3 separate regions of the Homo sapiens genome follow, and all the other regions are linked to region 1. The links are contacts of gene promoters, found by promoter capture Hi-C in blood cells and fetal thymus (Javierre and others, 2016). All regions are on one chromosome and are shown on one strand. The core of a region is centred on a gene start or on the middle of the fragment in contact, and the rest is flanking DNA. Distances in the headings are between cores, read along the strand shown.

Region 1 (2,653 bases), core at 102-2,601:
AGACGGGGTTTCTCCATGTGGGTCAGGCCGGTCTTGAACTCCCGACCTCAGGTGATCCGCCCGCCTTGGCCTCCCAAAGTGTTGGGGTTACAGGCGTGAGCCACTGTGCCCAGCCCTGCCCGGCTAATTTTGTTCATTTTTTGTAGAGGTGGGATCTCCCTATGTTGCCCAGGCTGTTGTCAAACTCCTGGACTCAAGCCATCCTCCCTCCTCGACCTCCCAAAGTGCTGAGATTATAGGCATGAACTACCACGCCTGAAGGAAAGTATTTCTACTGTTTTAAGGGCATGGGACAATTTCAAGCCTGTTTCTTGGAAGTAGTTCACATTCTTTAATTACAGACATTCACCTGATCATGGCGGGTGTGGTGGCTCACGCCTGTAAACACAGCACTTTGAGAGGCCAAGGCAGGAGAATCACTTCAGCCCAGGAGTTGGAGACCAGCCTGGGCAATATAGCGAGACCCTGTCTCATCTCTCTCTCTCTAGGTATATATAAAAGACATTCACCTGACCTGAGGAGTTCAGAGACCTTATAAACTGCTCTAGCTAGAAGTCAAGTTGGTAACTTGTGAGACACGGAAGTTAAGCGTCTAAATTAACGTTACCAAACTCAAAAATCTATACACTGCATTCATTCTCTACATTTATTCTGTGCAAGCCCTCTAGGTATTAGAATCTAGGAAAAGGAAATTTTACACTTAAGAACACCTGTGCTCCCTTAACATATACCAAAATATTTGATAAATGACACAGTATTTTGAATTTGTAGGTGGCTGGCTTTTCTTTTGCAGACCACACCTGTTAATATCACCTGGCCCTGTCTTGGGATCTACATGTAGTCTTGTCACCACTGGTCAATTGGCACATGGTTTTCCGAACATCAGTCGCCTGGGACAGCTCTGTAATTACTTGTTAATTACTTGAGTCGAATGATTCCGAACTCATGGTAGTTGCTTCGCCTTCATTGATCATTCACCATTTGGTTCTGTGCCAGCAGGATGCCCGGCTGCTTGGTCACAGGCATTGCGCAAGCTGGCACCGGGATCGTGGCCTCTTTAAGTCAACTTCTGGCTGAGGGAATCCGGCGACACTAGCCCGCGGAGAAGAAGGGCTGAAGGTGGAGCAGGGGGACACGCCGCGTCCCACCAGACGTACGCCGCGACGCCTGCTGGTGGATATTACCCGGGACCTCAAAGCGGCCGCCCGCCGATCCTCAGCGCCAAGCCACGGCCGGATGCGCTCAGGGCGGACCCGCGCGGCCCGGCCCCTCAGGGAGCCCGGGTGGGGGCGGGGCTGGGCGGGGCGGGGCGCGGCGCGCGCGGGGCGGGGGCGCGCGGCCTGTGGCGCCGTCACCCGGCAGACTCCGGAGGGTAGAGCGCTGTGCCGGTTCCGCTGCCGCTGGCCAGGAGCGCGGGGACAGTTCGGGGCTGCGCCGGAGGCCGGCCCGCCTTCCCGGGGGTTCCGTTATCATGTCGCTGAGGCAGCGCCTGGCCCAGCTGGTTGGCCGTCTGCAGGACCCGCAGAAAGTGGCCCGTTTCCAGCGGCTGTGCGGGGTGGAAGCGCCGCCGCGCCGCTCAGCAGACCGGAGGGAGGATGAGAAAGCGGAGGCGCCTCTCGCCGGAGACCCTCGACTGCGAGGGCGGCAGCCAGGGGCGCCTGGAGGCCCCCAGCCTCCCGGGAGCGACCGCAATCAGTGCCCGGCCAAGCCGGACGGCGGCGGCGCCCCCAACGGCGTGCGGAACGGGCTGGCGGCCGAGCTGGGCCCGGCCTCGCCGCGGCGCGCGGGCGCTCTGCGCCGCAACTCGCTGACGGGCGAGGAGGGCCAGCTGGCCCGCGTGAGCAACTGGCCGCTCTACTGCCTGTTCTGCTTCGGCACGGAGCTGGGCAACGAACTCTTCTACATCCTGTTCTTCCCCTTCTGGATCTGGAACCTGGACCCTCTGGTGGGCCGGAGGCTCGTGGTCATCTGGGTGCTGGTCATGTACCTGGGCCAGTGCACCAAGGACATCATCCGCTGGCCGAGGCCCGCCTCGCCGCCCGTGGTCAAGTTGGAGGTCTTCTACAACTCTGAGTACAGCATGCCCTCCACCCATGCCATGTCCGGCACCGCCATCCCCATTTCTATGGTCCTCCTCACCTATGGCCGCTGGCAGGTAGGGTTCCTTCTCGTCCTGTTCAGCCTGGGGGAGTTCAAAGAACTCGGAGTTCTCTTTGCTCTCTGCATTTATTTTAATTCGACCGTTCCCCTCCAAAGCCTCTCTTTCCACAGGTTTTCACAATACTCGCAAACAGGCCCTTTCTGGGTTTTGAAAAATTAAGTGATTGGGGGAAACTGGATACTTAGCCGTTGAATTCTATTTTAATATTAAATTCCAATTTAATGCCTTAGAACCCAAAGGACACACTTTTCCTAGAGTAATACATTGTCATTGGGCTTTGGTTGAGTTTTTTAAACGGCTTTAATTCTTGTAATGCACAGTGGAAGTGAATTTTTTAAATAATCGCTATGTAAACTAAGACCCAGTTTCACCGTAATATATGGTGCCTTCTTCCCTAAAACTGTTTCAGAAAGAGGTAAAGTCATTAGCTTTACCGTGAGACAGTGTTTACAAAACGTTAGTGTAATTCCAAAACAAACATGCTAGTTCCAA
Region 2 (2,653 bases), core at 47-2,546, 350 kb after region 1:
TGTCCCATAGCTAATAGCAACCATCCCAGCTTGCCAGTTATCAGCATATATTTTGGGTCAGCAGGACTGGTGCAGATCAGAGCTAGACAGATAATTCATATTGAACCACCCAACCTACATGAGGGCTTGATTTCATTTCTTTGGATAAGAATAATTTATATATATACACATATATATATAACATTTGTTTCTAGGGAAGTAGCTTCTGATTTTGATGAATTATGTGTTATTTAGAAAATAGAATTCTATGCAAATTCAGATGTCTAAGGTTAGTGCTATCACAGATCCTTATTTTAGGGTGAAATTGCTTTACTATTATACTTGCCTTTTTATTAAATGAAATTATCAAATGCCCACAGGCAGCTCTATTCTGGGTGCCAATAATTAGAAGGGCAGGCCAGGTGTGGTGGCTCACGCCTATAATCCCAGCACTTTGGGAGGCCGAGGCAGGCAGATCACCTGAGGTTGGGAGTTCGAGACCAGCCTGACCAACATGGAGAAACCTCGTCTCTACTAAAAATACAAAATTAGCCAGGTGTGGTGGCTCGCTTCTGTAATCCCAGCTACCCAGGAGACTGAGGCAGGAGAATTGCTTGAACCCAAGAGGCGGAGGTTGCGGTGAGCCAAGATGGTGCCATTGCACTCCAGCCTGGGCAACAAGAGCGAAACTCCGTTGCAAAAAAAAAAAAAAAGAAATTAGAAGGGCAAAGTTAGATTTTTTTTCTAGTTCTACCACCCCTCAGAAAATTATCTTGCCTTGAAATCTCTTGATGTGGAAATGAACTGTAGGTCATTTTCAGTTGTTCCAACTAAAAAAGGATACAGACAGTGTGCAGTACGAGAAATCATTCAGACAAAAGTTGTGCTTTTGCTTTCTTCATTCAGTATCCCATTTTATAAGACTAACTAACACACTCCTTTTTTTCTGTGCTTTCCAGGGCTATTGTGGCGTTGGTGTACAATGTGTTGAAGGCATTTATGGAAATGAACAGCACCATGTTTGACGAGCTGACAGCCACATACAAGTCAGATCGTCAGCGGTAACTTTTTAAAGCTTTTTTGTCAGCTGTGCATAAAGCTATTGAGTTTTTTCCTTGCTCTTTGCTGAAGTTGCCTAATTGTACCCCAAATCTTAAGCAGCACAATTTTGTTTACAGTCATGCATTACTTAACAACCAGTATATGTTCTGAGAAATGCATCCTTAGGCAATTGTATTGTGTGAACATCATAAGTATACAGTAATTACACAAACCTAGATGGTGTAGCCTACTATGACACACCTGAACTATGTAGTATTGCCTGTTCTTCCCAGGCTACAAACCTGTGGTGAATACCGTAGCCAATTGTAACACAAATCACTAGGCAGTAGGCCTTTTTCAACCCTGTTAAAATTTTATGGGACCACCGTGGTATATGTGGTCTGTGTTGACCGAAATGTTGTTATTTGGCACATGACTGTATTTATATATTCATTTTTGCACACTTATTAACTGTGTCTTTATTTATTTATTACTGTGCCACTGAGTAACAAAGCTTCCTGACACTCATTTTGATAAAGCCCGCTTTCTTTCCTTTCTTTAATAATATTTCACTTCTGCCTCAGGGTTAAGAGCCCAGCATTTAACTGGTATTTTAGGTTCACTTAAAGGGACCATCAGGTAGTTTGCTCTCTGGGATTCACTCCCACTCTGAACTTACTTGAAGTATAATTGGGCAGATCTTGTACTTCACTCCAATAGCAGGGGGAATGAGGCACCATTTATCTAGCTCTTGGGCCCAGGACTTACTAGAACCCAACAAATTTATTACAATTTAAAGATCAGTGAAAAGAACATGAAGGTTAATAGTCTGGTATTAACCAGAAATGTTTGAGACCATATGGGAGAACAAACCAGTGGAACTCTTTGCAATAAATGCTTATGGCTTAGTAAAAATCTTGTCCAATGCATTCTACTTTCCAAAAGATGTACTTGGGGAGATTATAGAAGTCTAGAGAGCTCTTAGTAGTTGCGCCTGTGGTTTGGCTTTGATCATCCATAAGCAGATGTCAGCTTTGTATATCATAAAGCTATGGACCTTAGAGGACCCAGAGATGTGTGCGAGTGTTCATACCCAGGGTCTTGCTGAACCTCTCTGGTTCCCTTGGTGCTTTGCTTTGTCTCATTTTTAGTCTGTCAACTTGCATTTTATTGATAAAAAGAGCAATGAGGGGAAAGGTTTGATGGCAGAGGGACCATTGCAATGATTTTTTTGTTTTAAGTTACCAGGGATGTGGTTTATGAAAACCAACTTAATTATGGAATGTGGTGAGTATTTAGCTGAGAATCTCAGAAGAGGCTGGGATTTTTTACCCAGAATATTGGGATTATTATCAATTATGGGATATGTTATTCCATACTCACAGTTTAAACAACTTTTTTTTTTTTGTTTTTTGAGATGGAGTCTTGCTCTGTTGCCCAGGCTGGAGTGCAGTGGCGCGATCTCAGCTCACTGCAAGCTCCGCCTCCCAGGTTCATGCCATTCTCCTGCCTCAGCCTCCTAAGTAGCTGGGACTACAAGCACCCGCCACCACGCCTGGCTAATTTTTTGTATTTTTACTAGAGACAGGGTTTCACTGTGCTAGTCAGGATGGTCTCGATCTCCTGACCTCAT
Region 3 (2,653 bases), core at 65-2,564, 290 kb after region 1:
CCCTTCCCTGTATTTTGCTGCTTCTGACAAGGCCAGACCACATAGTATGCTCTGGGGTTAAATGTTCATTTTTTTTTTTTTTGCTTAAGAACAGTTTCTTCTTCACTCCCTCTCTCCTACCACTTCTGCTGCCCTATATAGTAGCTTTACACTCCCTTTGTGTTATTCTTGAATTGTTAACGCTGCTTCTCAATTTTTCTCTCTACCCTACCACTTATTCCCAGTCTGGAAAAGTAAATAGTGATTGAGGAGGTGAGGAGGAGCCCAGGAGGAAGGCCGTGTATTTCAGAACACCCCTCTCTCTCTTCCACCCAGATAGCAGTCCCCTGAGTTCATGTGCTTTCCCACTCCACTTCTCTCTCTGCCCCACCCTTAGAAGTTCCAAAAATCAGGCTCCTCTGCCCGTTGGTGCTCCTTATGTGGTAACATTGGCGTGGCGATACCTTACCTGTGCATCATAGAGGGGCCCCACCTTGCAGCCCTGTTTGTGTTGAATTGGTAGGACCCACAGAAAACGTATATGGAAATTGAAAGTGCCAGTGTATGAATTCAGAGTGAGAAGGGCACTGCTCAGTGGATAGCTGTTTGTGTGTATTTGAACTGTGCCTTCTCTCCCTGCAGGCAAGCTATGCGAGCTGCCAAGGAATCCTTAGGTTGGTTGGTTAGCCTGAATTCAGAGCAAGGGGAGTTAATTAGATGATTCAAACATCCCTCCATCTCCATGATGGACATCCTAATCCTTGGAAGCACTTATGTGTGTACAGCCTGCTTTTCCTTTTTACTGTCCTTCCTGGGTCAGTGGCATAGACAAACAGACCAGAACCCGGCTGGGCGCGGTGGCTCACGCCTGTAATCCCAGCACTTTGGGAGGCCGAGGAGGGTGGATCACCTGAGGTCCGGAGTTCGAGACCAGCCTGACCAACACGGAGAAACCCCGTCTCTACTAAAAATACAAAATTAGCCAGGCCTGGTGGCGCATGCCTGTAATCCCAGCTACTGTGGAGGCTGAGGCAGGAGAATGGCTTGAACCTGGGAGGTGGAGGTTGTTGTGAGCCGAGATCGTGCCATTGCACTCTAGCCTGGGCAACAAGAGCAAAACTCCGTCTCAAAAAACAGAAACAAAAACAAAAACAAAAAAAAAAAACAGACCAGGACCCAGTCTGGCCACTTACTGAACTATGTGATCCCAGGTGAGTCTCATCCCTCTAAGCTTGTTATTATACTATAACTCTATAAGGTTGTTTTGAAAATTAATTTATGAACAGTGCTTAGCACTGTGGTAAGCATTGTTAAAGTCACCATATCATTATTATCATTATTCATGGTACCATCTCTAGCACCCCAGTAGACTTAACCTGTCTATATTGGTTAATACATTTTTCTGGTTACAATGAAGTCTTGCTAACCTGAAAGCTTTTTTTTGTCTTTTTCAGATGACTTTCCATATCTTTTGTCTGACTATTGATTTCAAACTCTCTATGAAGTTTTATTTTCATACCTTTTTTTTTTGGGAGAACTGCCTGTGAAACTGCATATGCCCCTGTGTTTATAGTTATATATACATTTATATATATACTGCCCTAAGTTCATCTAAATGAATTCCTGATATACTTGCATATTCACGTCCCCAACTCTAGTAATAATTTAGCATTTCTCTCCGCAATCATTCTCTCTTAAGGAATCTGACAAGGATTTTAAAGTGTTTAGTTTTAATTTAAATGTGCTAAAGAGAGGGTTTTTACTCAGGAAGCCACTGAGCTACTCGAGATTGCTATTTGCTTCATTTACAAGCTGTAGTCCTTCTGGCTTAACTGCTTTAAAGGTTGTTCAGAGTTTTTAATATACTTAAAATTGTTTGACAGCTGTGACTTGTCTAGCACTGATATATCCAATAATATCTCACTGTAATGAGTATACTCCCCCTGTCTCTACCCCTCCCCCCAGTGGCTGGCAGCAGAATTTTGCAGGATAAGTTACAGTACTGCATTCAAGTTTTGGTTTCTCTTTTCTCCCACCTTTTAATTTAACCTTGAAGCTGAAAATGTGGTTTAAAGGTATAAGCAATGCTTCTGGGAAATCTATTAAGCACATGGATGACAAAGTGTGAAATCTTGCTTGTGGCATGTGCAAGTGGGTCTTGGATAATCCCAGCTCTTGGTGTTAGTTTGTATGATTTGGCTGTCTCTCTACTGAGGAGACACAGAAATGAAAGAGAGGGATTTATTGGCTGATTGTTTGGAGGAAGCTGGTTACACCACAGTGGTGCATGATGAGCAGGAAAAAGCTGAGAAAATGAGTGTCCTCAATGTGGAATTCACAGAGACAGGAGTGCCTGAGGCAAGAATCTGGCAAGCAGACAATGAGCAGGTCATTTCCAGGAGGCAGTTGGCTGCTGACCAGTATTTAAAGCCAAACTTGATCTGTAGGAAAACAAGAAGAAATATGCTATTCAGTGACTTCTCAGGAGCAAGTTGCCTCTGAAAAATGGTGCAAAGACACTAGACTATAGAGTAGAAATGCCATTTCTGTGATGAGTAGAGAGAGGTGAGGGTTGGCCAAGTAGTGGAGAGGGACAGCTGGTGGGGTCATGGTGAGGAGGGTCAGGAGTGGCACACACAAGGAAAGACATTTCTCAGTAAAAATCAGGCTGGTT

The links. Contacts are between HindIII fragments. The CHiCAGO score rates a contact against its expected background, and 5 or more counts as called.
Region 2: a fragment that was not itself captured here is called in contact with the fragment with the promoter of SGPP1 in region 1 in 1 of 17 cell types (megakaryocytes); the score reaches 5.5 in megakaryocytes.
Region 3: a contact is called between a fragment that was not itself captured here and the fragment with the promoter of SGPP1 in region 1, in 2 of 17 cell types (fetal thymus and megakaryocytes). The highest score is 5.7, in fetal thymus.

What each region holds. Positions count from the first base shown.
Region 1 is chr14:63,726,763-63,729,415 of GRCh38, reverse strand. It overlaps SGPP1 (sphingosine-1-phosphate phosphatase 1), which reads left to right and starts at 1,351. Exons shown (of 3, transcript NM_030791.4): 1 at 1,351-2,155. The coding sequence starts at 1,472. RefSeq lists enhancers at 860-1,049, 2,010-2,059, 1,704-2,205 and silencers at 1,260-1,359, 1,650-1,749. The HindIII fragment of the contact is 15,620 bases long and covers 1-2,653 here.
Region 2 is chr14:63,380,443-63,383,095 of GRCh38, reverse strand. PPP2R5E (protein phosphatase 2 regulatory subunit B'epsilon) reads left to right here. Exons shown (of 14, transcript NM_006246.5): 13 at 939-1,040. Among named protein-coding and RNA genes, the nearest start is that of GPHB5, 63 kb to the right of the region's middle. The HindIII fragment of the contact is 480 bases long and covers 1,057-1,536 here.
Region 3 is chr14:63,437,846-63,440,498 of GRCh38, reverse strand. The region is part of intron 3 of PPP2R5E (protein phosphatase 2 regulatory subunit B'epsilon); the gene reads left to right. Among named protein-coding and RNA genes, the nearest start is that of PPP2R5E, 100 kb to the left of the region's middle. RefSeq lists a silencer at 2,194-2,488. The HindIII fragment of the contact is 203 bases long and covers 1,213-1,415 here.